2 separate regions of the Homo sapiens genome follow, and region 1 is linked to region 2. The links are contacts of gene promoters, found by promoter capture Hi-C in human tissues and cell types (Jung and others, 2019). All regions are on one chromosome and are shown on one strand. The core of a region is centred on a gene start or on the middle of the fragment in contact, and the rest is flanking DNA. Distances in the headings are between cores, read along the strand shown.

Region 1 (5,477 bases), core at 2,316-4,815, 46 kb before region 2:
TAGATCTACTTCATAATTTCTCCCCAGCAGCCTTGAAGCGATGTCCAACCTGGCACAGAGTCTGGCATTAGATTGGTGCTCAAGAAACATCTACTTACTCTCTGTTCAACTGAATTTAAATTAGTTATATGACCTCTTTTGGGTACGTTACCAAATGTCAAACAGTTGCCCACTGGTCCCCTCAAAATCCTTGAAATCTCAATGATGTTGCCTTGAACCCTGAATTCTACAGCATGGGAAAGCCTTAAGCCATCCTCAAGACATTTGCATTTTTCTGGTGTTGAGAATCTTTTTGTTGGCTCACTAATTCCATTCTACCCCGTGTCCCAAGGCATAGTGCTTTCTCTATCTTCCATGAGAAATCTATTTGTGTCTGCCCTTTGCTAAGCTTTCAAGAATTCACTGAAGATCATGCAGTTCTGGGGAGTGATTATATCATGTACAATGCAGTACAACTGATTCACCATCTTGCTGGTTCTACCACCCTCTCCCTCGCCCTCTCTCATATTTTCCTCTCCCTTTCTTCCTCTTCACTCAGGTACAGCTATACTTGCTGTTAGTATTTTACAGCTATACTTGCTGTAAGTATTTTACAGCAAGTGGGCTTGTCAAGGGGTTTTTCCACATCAGGGTGGATGTCTCCTCAGAAAGAATTCTCAAACCAACTGCTAAGACAATAAAAGTTTTCCATCTCTTATTCCACCCAAGACTGAAATCAAAGATGGAGACCACTGTTCTTTACTTTCCATTATTTCCTTTGACCACATGATGACAGATGTCAGAGAGTCCCTGTCATAATAGAGCTCCTGAGTGCTCGCCTAACTCAATGGAAGAACTGCTTTCACCTTGATCCAATTGCCAGCTTATCTACCTGGCTTTGATTCTCTGGAACCGCAGGCTTTCTTCACCACAAGTGTGGTCTCACGTGTTCTGGATCTGTGTCTATAAGCAACAGAAAAAAAAACTATTAAACACCCATTGCAAACAAAGTAAAATTCTAGGGACTGAGAGAGAAGAATCATGGCCTCTGTTCTATAAGAATTTGTGAGCCCAGCTCTGGCACCAACTTACCATGTAATTTTAGGAAGATGACTAACTTCCCAGCCTCAGTTTCCTCATATGTAAAATGGTGATATTGTAAACACCTACCACATAGGGTCATTGCAAAGAATAAATAAGGTAAAGACAAAACAAAAAGGCAAAACAAGTAAAGTACTTGGCTTGGTACATGGTTAATAATGATAATAAATTATGTACAAATAAATCAGTGCTGATTGCTCAATGAAATGGGAAAAGATGCATAATATAAGGCAGACTTTGATAAGTTTTATAGGAGAGTTACAATTTCCTATGGGGAAATATGGGAGGGAAGGATTCATTCTAATTGAGAGGATTGAGAAAGGATACTCAGAGTAAACAAGAGTTGAGCTAGGTGTGAAGAATAAATAGGATTGGGACAAAAGGTCTTGGGAAGTTTCCACAAGGTATTGAGAATCAGTGTTGAAAACTTGTATATTTTTGGTAGTGTTTCAGTATTGAAGGATGATGATCTTGGCTCCTACCAGTTATGGTGAGAAACTAGGTTGCTATATTCAGAAACGATTTGGTGGATAGAAGTCTTGAAAGCTTTGTGGCTAAAACTCTACCTGATCCCTATGCAGTCTATGGGTGGCATAGTTTTTGTAAGGCCAGAGGTTACATTACCTGAAAGATCATTTAGACCAATACTCATTAGATGTCTCAGCTGTTGTTGTAGGTACAACATCCTTACTCAAAAGCCAACTCATTATCAGTTCATACACCTCCAATGATAGAAAGTTCATTGCCAACACTATTTTGACCACAGTCAATATACTGAAAAGGACCAGAGGGCAGGAAACCCATCAGGTTCATGGGAGATCATAGGAAGAAGGACATAGTTTCCAGAAATTATCAGTTTTAAAAGGAAACTTAACTTGACTCTAAGCAAACCATTCAACCTCTCTGGACCTCAGAGCATCTCTCATGTTGCTTATAGCTCTAATATCCTGAAGCCTCAAATCAAAAAGGCAGCAGAGATTAAACAACATATTGTAGAGAAAAACCAACTGAAATCGGGCACACATACATATTTTGTAATTTTCAACTACAAAGTAAAGAGATTATTATTACCACTATGAAAGCATTTCATTTCAATTCAACAAGCATCATGTCAGTCCCCAGGGTTACAGAGCTGAATACTCCTACTCTATTCCACCCTGGACAAACCATTCCTGGAAAGCCTTCTATCCAGGTGTGGATGCCTCAGTTTAACAGGTATAGCAGTACACTATGGTTTGGCCAGAATCTGGAGATATAGCTGGAACATAGGCTGTCATCTAAGTGAAAACTCTTATCAGAGCTATATGAGAGGAACTAAAGTTCTTTTAAACTACTGAGAGCAGAACAGGTGTCCACAGGTAAAATTACCACAGAAGTGGATTTCAGTTTTATGTAATGAAGATCATCCTAGTTATTAGAGTTGCTCACTGGAAAAGCTAATGAATCCCATTGCAAGAAGTATTTCAGAACGATCTGGAGAACTAACTCTTAGAATAGTTGTAGAAGACATGTTTGCACTGGCTAGGCAATTAGTCCAGAAGATACACAGTAATATTGATCATGATTCATTCATTTATTCAACATACATTAGTGAACACTTCCTGACTTTGGGGCTGGCATCCCTGGGTTTAAGTCTCCACTGTGCTACTTCCTAGCTGTGATACCTTGAACCAGTTAGTGTCCCTGTATCTCAGTCTCCTCATCTACAAAATGGGAATAATAATCGCTCCTGCTTCAGAGAGTTATTGTGAAGATAAAAGGAGATGATTTATGTAAAGCAGTTTTGAACAGTGTCTGGCACATAATACATAGTCAATTAATATTAGACATTAGTAGCAGTAATATGTGATATGTTACTGCTGTAATATATTGCAGCCAATGGCAGGCACTGGGCTAGACACTGGATTACCATGGTTAAGAAAACAGACATCAATCCTACGTTTCTTGAGTTTAAAGTCAGCCAAGAGGTTGGAGGGTGTAAAAGACAGTAAACAAAAAGTCACAGAAACAAATAGTTTCAAAATGTGACAATGCTATGAAGGGAAAAAAGAGAATTCCATGATAGCATATAACAGAGAGGAAGGAGACTCATCTAGACTCGGAGGTACAGGGAAGGGTTCTCTGAGGAACTGACACTTAGGCTGAGTTGCAGTATAGACGCATCCCTGTACCAGTGATTTAGAGGAGTGGCCTCACGCTTGACTTATTTTAAGTCCACAGAGAAAGCAAGCCATCTATCTGCAAGAGTGTGGCATCACCTGGCAATCTGATTCCCAGTTTGTGCATCAAGACTCACACTGGCAGTGTAAATGTAGACAAGCTCTCTTTGCTTTAGCTATTAGATTCCATTTAATTTTTCTCTGAAATCTATAAACATCAATAAATCCATCCATCCATCCAACCATTCATTCAATGATCCACTGGCCTATGGGAGATTCAAAGATATGTAGCCCCCAATGTCAAAAAATTCTGCAAGGGAAGCTGATGTGTGTATAAACTCCTGTAAGTGAAGATACATGGGAGTGATGGAGGGAAATGCTATGGAATTTTGAAGAAGTTAGAAATTCAGCACCAATCCGGGTGTGAAGGGAGAAGTTGTTGGAAAAAGTGGCATGTTAAAGTATGCTGGGGGATTCTAAGCAAAGTGAACGCAAAGGAATCAAATCTTATTCAGCATTTGTGTTCTAAAATCAATGCATAAAGCCAAAAAAAGTCATAAATAGAGGATAGTCAAAAGTTCCCTTGAAAATCCCTTATGAGAGACTGTGTTGGAAAATGACACTGTCTCTCAAGAAATCCAATACAGTCACTGTGTCCTGTAGTCCCAAAATCAATTGTTGTTGCTTCAGCTGAATTCGTGAGCTTGCTTTAAGGGGCCAAGTTGTATGAAAACCATGAAATCTTCCACATTGGACTCACACATGTTGTGATGAGATGCTCATCCTGTGGGAAGACCATAGAAGAGGTGAGGAGGAGTAGTTGTGGCCATGTTTCCTGCAACCTGCAGGGCAGCACTCACCATTCAGCATGGAAAAGCAGACAGAGCTGTCCCTAGCAGCTTAGCCATCAATTTGCTCTGCTCTCAGCCTCCCTCAGTCTATTCATGTTATTTTTTGCCAACTAAATAGTTAACTGTGCTTGCATTAAATATAAATATAATAATGTGTCCAATGCAACATGGTTAAAAACCCGAGGTCAGCAAACAGCTGGGCTATTCAGGAAACAGCTCAGTGGCCCATTATAACTGGAAGTTGGGGTCTATATTGGTCTCTAAGGCTCCCATAACAAAGCACCACAAACTCGATGACTTAATGCAACAGAAGTTTATTCTCTCATGGTTCCTTTTGGAGAGCAGAAGTCTAAAAATCAAGGGGTCAGCAGGGCCACACTTCCTGTGGAGGCTCTACAAGAGATTCCATCCTTTGCCTCTTCCAGCTTCTAGTGATTCTAATTCCTTGGCTTGCAGCTCCTCCCCTGTGTCCTTATGTCTCAACTCTCCCTCTCTTTTATTTTATAAGGACAACACTCCTTGAGCTTAGGGCCCACCCTAAATCTAGAATCATCTCATCTCAAGATTCTTAACATCTTCAAAAGCCCCATTTCCATTAAAGTCACATTCACAGGTACTGGGGTGGTGGGGTGGGGTTAGGACTTAGACGTATCTTTTGGAGATCTGCTATTCAACCCAATACAAAGTCTAAGAAAGAGAATTTTAAAAGTAGATTGAAGCCCTGTTTTGACAGTCTTTGAATGCCAATTTTGAATGACTTTGAGGTTATAGTTCTCTTTAGAGTTGTGATGGTGGCAACTTTTACTTACATGCTATTTAAACATCTCTCTGCAGGGTCTCCTCCTCTGCCTTACTGTTCCTCTCTGACACCCTGGAGCCCTTCCCTACTACTTTATGTACTCATGAGGGATCCTGCAGGACAATAAGCTTTGATAAACTTGATAAACTCCAACATTGCTTTTTCATGTCCTAATCAAAATGCCCAACTTGTATCATATCCTCTACATGAGTGACGATTAATCAACTAAAATAATCTTATAAGATTAAAATACTCTCATGATTAATCAAATAAAATAACCTTATTTTAAAATAATAAAATAATTAAGGCACTGGCTCGTCAACATTGTTAGAAATTGCACATGTGGCCTTTTGAGTGTGTCTATGTTAATGAGTGCTCTTGCTTGCAGAGATGCAGCTGCTGCTGGGGACACCACCTGAAGCAGGGAGGGAGAAATGCCCTAACTAGCTGCTTCTTCTTGTCCCCAAAATATCATTGGCCAAACTCAGCTAGAAGCCAGCTGATGCAGGAGCCTGGGAGCTACAGCTTGCAGAGATAAGATCCCTGTGATACAGAACAGAGGTGGGAAGGGAAAGACACTATGGGAAG
Region 2 (5,098 bases), core at 1,011-3,510:
ACAGCCTCTCCTTTTAATAAAGACCCCTGACAGAGGGCTGCCAAGTTCTTCCAGTCTCACACCCCACTGTGTAGGTCATGAGTGGCTGCAGGAGCAGAAGGAGCACTGTCCTGTAGGCCAGGGAAACAGAGTTTCCTAACCAGCTCTGCTCCTGACCATCTTGCCAAGTCTCTTTCCCTAGTGCACCACCTCCAACACAGGAAGATAAGCAAACCAAGGTTCTGAGAGCTTCTGAAGATCTAAATCACTATAAACTTGTGAATCTCTTATTATCAAATCTTCAAATACAGCTTAGGGCAATTTAATTATAATAGAAAATAATCCATTTTCAGGACTGTCTCTACCACAGATTTCTTAACCCGAGGGAAACCCCCTGAAATTGTGTATTTTGCACATGTGTGGAGTCTGTGCACTTTGCTGGGAGTAAATTAAAACCTTCGATACGTGTATGATAACCACCTGCCTCCCTTCTCAAAAAATAAAAATAAAAAGAGGTTAAGAGCTTACCTCTAGGTTGAGAAGCTTAGATGTAAGTCATCCTGAGTGACTTCTGTTTTCCCCACCCGTGAATATCAAGTTATAACAAGTATCAAGAGCAGAAGGTGAGAAACCCAAGATGCAGGCTTGTGAACTGGAGTAAAAGAAGGTATCAGGCTTTACTTTTCAATCTCCAGCTGCCACTGCCCATTGCTCTGCCATATATTTGCTAGCCTATGACCTCAGGAATCAACTGACTCTCTCTGAACCACTGTTTCTCATCTCTCAATGAACAATGGTTATGCTTCTCTCAAAGAATTGTAAAGTCTCAAAGAAACTGAGTAAATGCATGGCTATCAGTAAGCGCTCAATTCATGGGAGTCCCTGCCCAGCACCAGTGGCTCAGGCCCCAAAATTAACTACTCAAAAGGCAGCTCCATCTATAACAGTGGTTCCATCCCCTACCTTGCCCCGGGGGAAAAGTATGACACAGTAGCTGAGTACCCAACTTTGGGAGAGACCCCACAGTTGAGTTCAGTTCCCAGCAGCTCTCCTCCATGCCTTTGTGAACTTGGGCGAACAGCTAAACTTCCCCATAATTTGGTGTCTCATCCATGAAATAGAAATGGTGAAGAGTGTATTCTTTCTCTCATGAGAGTCATGAGAAAATGCAAAAAGAACTCAGCACACTGTCTAGGACAAAATAAATGTTGGATAAATGTGAACTAACATAAAGTTCTTTGGCTTTTTCTTTCTTTCTTTCTTGGCCCATACTTTCTCTTCTAAGTACCATTCACCCACCTTTGGGAGTGCGTCCCTGTGACTGAATGTCCAACATGGATATCAGACAGAAAGGAAAAAACTCAACAAATAACCAAGATCCTCTACGTCCCTTCCCCAGGTCTCTGACCTCCCTCACCCCCACTCCCAGATAGCCAGCTAGCTTCCTCCCTCAATTCCCTTCATGTTTCCTCAAATATCACTTCAGTGACATCCCAAGCACCCACTTAACATTTCAAATCCACCCCACAAACACCCCACTGCATTTCCCCCTCCTTACTTTATTTTCAGCCTAACACCTGTCATCACATTACACACCTCATCATTTGCTTATTTAGTATACTGTCTGTCTTCTGTCGGGAGAAGCTACGCTCCTATAGGGCAGGAGTCCGTCTATTTTGTTCAGTTGCTATGTTCACAGCGCCCAGAGCCAGGGCAGAGAGTGGAGACTCCGTAAGAATCGGCTGAATAAATGAGTGAATGCCTGAGCGAATGAAAGGATGAAGAGAAGCCAGATTTTACTGGGGCCAAAGAGTTTGCACGGGGCGAGGGGAGCCAGATGAAGGATGAGGGCTGGCCTCAGATCCGACTCAAGTCCCTCCCACCTGCCCAATCCTAGAATTCTCTTTCCCTCTTTTAGGTGCTGGACAAGTTGCATATCCCGTTAAATCCGGGGCCCACTCCGGGAGCCCCCTATTAAAGGTAAGCAGCCCCCAACCCACCTTTGACACGGAAGAGTGACTAGCGGGGAAAATAACCCCAGCGGGCCGCCTAGGGGTGGGTGACCCGCGATCTCCACGCCCAGGTCCCGCCCTCGCGGCCCCTGCCCCCGCCCCGCCCCCCGCAGAGGGCGCGCCCTGGGAGCGGCGGGGGACGCGGCTGGCTTCCCGGCTTGCGGGGTGGCGGCGTCGGGGCTGCGGGCGCCTTGGCTGGACCCGCATTGCCCCCTAGTGCCGCGCGGAGTCAGGGCGCCGGGCTCCCCCGCCTGATGTCACCGCCGTGCAGTCAGCCCAGAAGCGGCTCATTGAAAGCAGACCCTCTTCGGCGCTCGCTGGGCGGAGGACGCGCCGCGGTCCGCAGACCCGAGCGAGCTGGGCACCGCCGGGCGCCCCCGGCCCTGCCGCCCCCTCCTCCCCGCCGCTCCCCCGCGAGCCCGGCCAGGCGCGCCTGACGTGGACCATTAAACTTGGAGCTGCCGCCTCGTCCCCTCTCCTCCTCCTCCTCCCTCTGACAGGCGAGCGAGCGACTCGGTGCAGGCAGGAGACGTGCTGCCGGGCTGGGCTGCCCGGGGGAGATGACTCCTCGCCAGGAGGGCGCCTCTGGGAAGAAGACCACGGGGGAAGCAAAGTTTCAGGGCAGCTGAGGAGCCTTCGCCGCAGCCCTTCCGAGCCCAATCATCCCCCTGGCTATGGAGGGCGGACTCTAAGATGAATCCCGACCTGGACACCGGCCACAACACATCAGCACCTGCCCACTGGGGAGAGTTGAAAAATGCCAACTTCACTGGCCCCAACCAGACCTCGAGCAACTCCACACTGCCCCAGCTGGACATCACCAGGGCCATCTCTGTGGGCCTGGTGCTGGGCGCCTTCATCCTCTTTGCCATCGTGGGCAACATCCTAGTCATCTTGTCTGTGGCCTGCAACCGGCACCTGCGGACGCCCACCAACTACTTCATTGTCAACCTGGCCATGGCCGACCTGCTGTTGAGCTTCACCGTCCTGCCCTTCTCAGCGGCCCTAGAGGTGCTCGGCTACTGGGTGCTGGGGCGGATCTTCTGTGACATCTGGGCAGCCGTGGATGTCCTGTGCTGCACAGCGTCCATTCTGAGCCTGTGCGCCATCTCCATCGATCGCTACATCGGGGTGCGCTACTCTCTGCAGTATCCCACGCTGGTCACCCGGAGGAAGGCCATCTTGGCGCTGCTCAGTGTCTGGGTCTTGTCCACCGTCATCTCCATCGGGCCTCTCCTTGGGTGGAAGGAGCCGGCACCCAACGATGACAAGGAGTGCGGGGTCACCGAAGAACCCTTCTATGCCCTCTTCTCCTCTCTGGGCTCCTTCTACATCCCTCTGGCGGTCATTCTAGTCATGTACTGCCGTGTCTATATAGTGGCCAAGAGAACCACCAAGAACCTAGAGGCAGGAGTCATGAAGGAGATGTCCAACTCCAAGGAGCTGACCCTGAGGATCCATTCCAAGAACTTTCACGAGGACACCCTTAGCAGTACCAAGGCCAAGGGCCACAACCCCAGGAGTTCCATAGCTGTCAAACTTTTTAAGTTCTCCAGGGAAAAGAAAGCAGCTAAGACGTTGGGCATTGTGGTCGGTATGTTCATCTTGTGCTGGCTACCCTTCTTCATCGCTCTACCGCTTGGTAAGTTGGGGACTAGCAGCAGGGGGACTGGGCATTTTTGGACCTTGGGTTTACTGATGAGCTTACTCTAAAGTTTTTTGTGGGTTTTGTTTCTTATGCAGTCTGTGCGTGTTCGGAGATTGAATAATATTGTTTGTTCTGCAAAGGGTTTGCAGATTGGGGAGCTGGCTAAAAACCAACTCAGGTGTTAGTAGAACACGCTAAGGCACTAGCTTCTGGAAATAGAACCAGGGAAGGAAAATCTGGTATGAGGAATGACTCACTCAACAGCCTCGGTTTAATAATTAAAAAGGATATTCACTGGGCTTGAATATCACACCGGCGTTATTTCAGTAGTAATGATGTGTCGGCTAAGGCAGCGTCACTAATGCAGCATACAAAATAGTTTGTAGTTACTGCAGACGCGGCATTTGGGAAGCAGGGAGGCAGCTCGTACACAGAAAGGCAGCATTCATTCAGCATTTCCAGGGCTAGAGCAGAAGCCACGCTTCTCAAGAGCTTTGCAGAGGCTGCATTCTCTCCCTCCCCTCTTCACTGACAGCTATCACCCAGATATACTACGTTCATTATCCGTTAATAAGAGCATTTTACAGCCACACAGCCCCAACCAGCCTTTAAGTTATTGAAAGCTTGAGATGTGAAAGAGAAGATGACTAGAGGGTCACACATTTTTAGTTTTTACCCAAAAATGTTTCTAACTCTAGTGATTTATGGAATGCCCAGAATCAAATTATAGTTGTCCCTCATCTCAGCTGACAGAGACCAAATCCTGGTAAGATGGAATTCAGTGCGTCCTCCCCCTCTTATGAAAACATGTTCGTCTTCTTTTTGTTTGGTGGTCCTACTAACTGAATTGTTCAAAAGGCTACCTGATGTTTTCTAAGGAAGAAGCCAAGGTCTGGTTAGCAGGTAAACCTAAAGGGGGGCATCTGTCACATGCTGTCCACATGGCCTGGGGATCCCTTGTCCTTCCTCTGAGGCACTGATCTGCTTTGATTCCTTCTCCTATCCCTGGGGGACACTACAGAAAATGAATGGAGGGAGTTTATCATGACACAGTCATGTGCCATGATATCAGGAGAGGTAACAGCTGCTATACTGCGGACCACATATGCCTGCAATCACACCGGAGTCTCAGGTCAGACCCAAATATAACCAAATCCCTCAAACAGCTATAAATTCTGAAGGCACACTGCTTTCAAGAGAAAAATGCAAACAGAAAGGAAGCAAACAGATATCGAGTTTCCATTTAAAAAGAAAGAAAAAGATTTTCAAAAGCCGTCTAACCTTTTCTCCATGTCATCTTTTCTAAAGCAGGCCTGCAGGCTAATGCCTTTCAGAAATATTTTCAATGGTTAGTGTTAAGCAGAAAGGGTTTGAAAAAGTTCTACTCCCCAGGCGTGATCACATACCATTGCAGGGAAGCTTGCTTTTCTTTCCCAAGGTCTCAGGGTTCTTTTGCAGG

What was found. Contacts are between HindIII fragments. The study calls those that stand out against the background at their distance.
Region 1: a contact is called between a fragment that was not itself captured here and the fragment with the promoter of ADRA1B in region 2, in 2 of the 25 tissues and cell types used here (aorta and heart left ventricle).

What each region holds. Positions count from the first base shown.
Region 1 is chr5:159,866,987-159,872,463 of GRCh38, forward strand. LINC01847 (long intergenic non-protein coding RNA 1847) reads right to left here and starts at 4,398. Exons shown (of 3, transcript NR_109891.1): 1 at 872-4,398; 2 at 1-49. It also overlaps a transcript of ADRA1B not described here. The HindIII fragment of the contact is 5,117 bases long and covers 1,008-5,477 here.
Region 2 is chr5:159,914,222-159,919,319 of GRCh38, forward strand. ADRA1B (adrenoceptor alpha 1B) reads left to right here and starts at 2,261. Exons shown (of 2, transcript NM_000679.4): 1 at 2,261-3,633. The coding sequence starts at 2,685. RefSeq lists a silencer at 2,095-2,154 and enhancers at 2,218-2,834, 2,835-3,451. The HindIII fragment of the contact is 5,190 bases long and covers 1-4,660 here.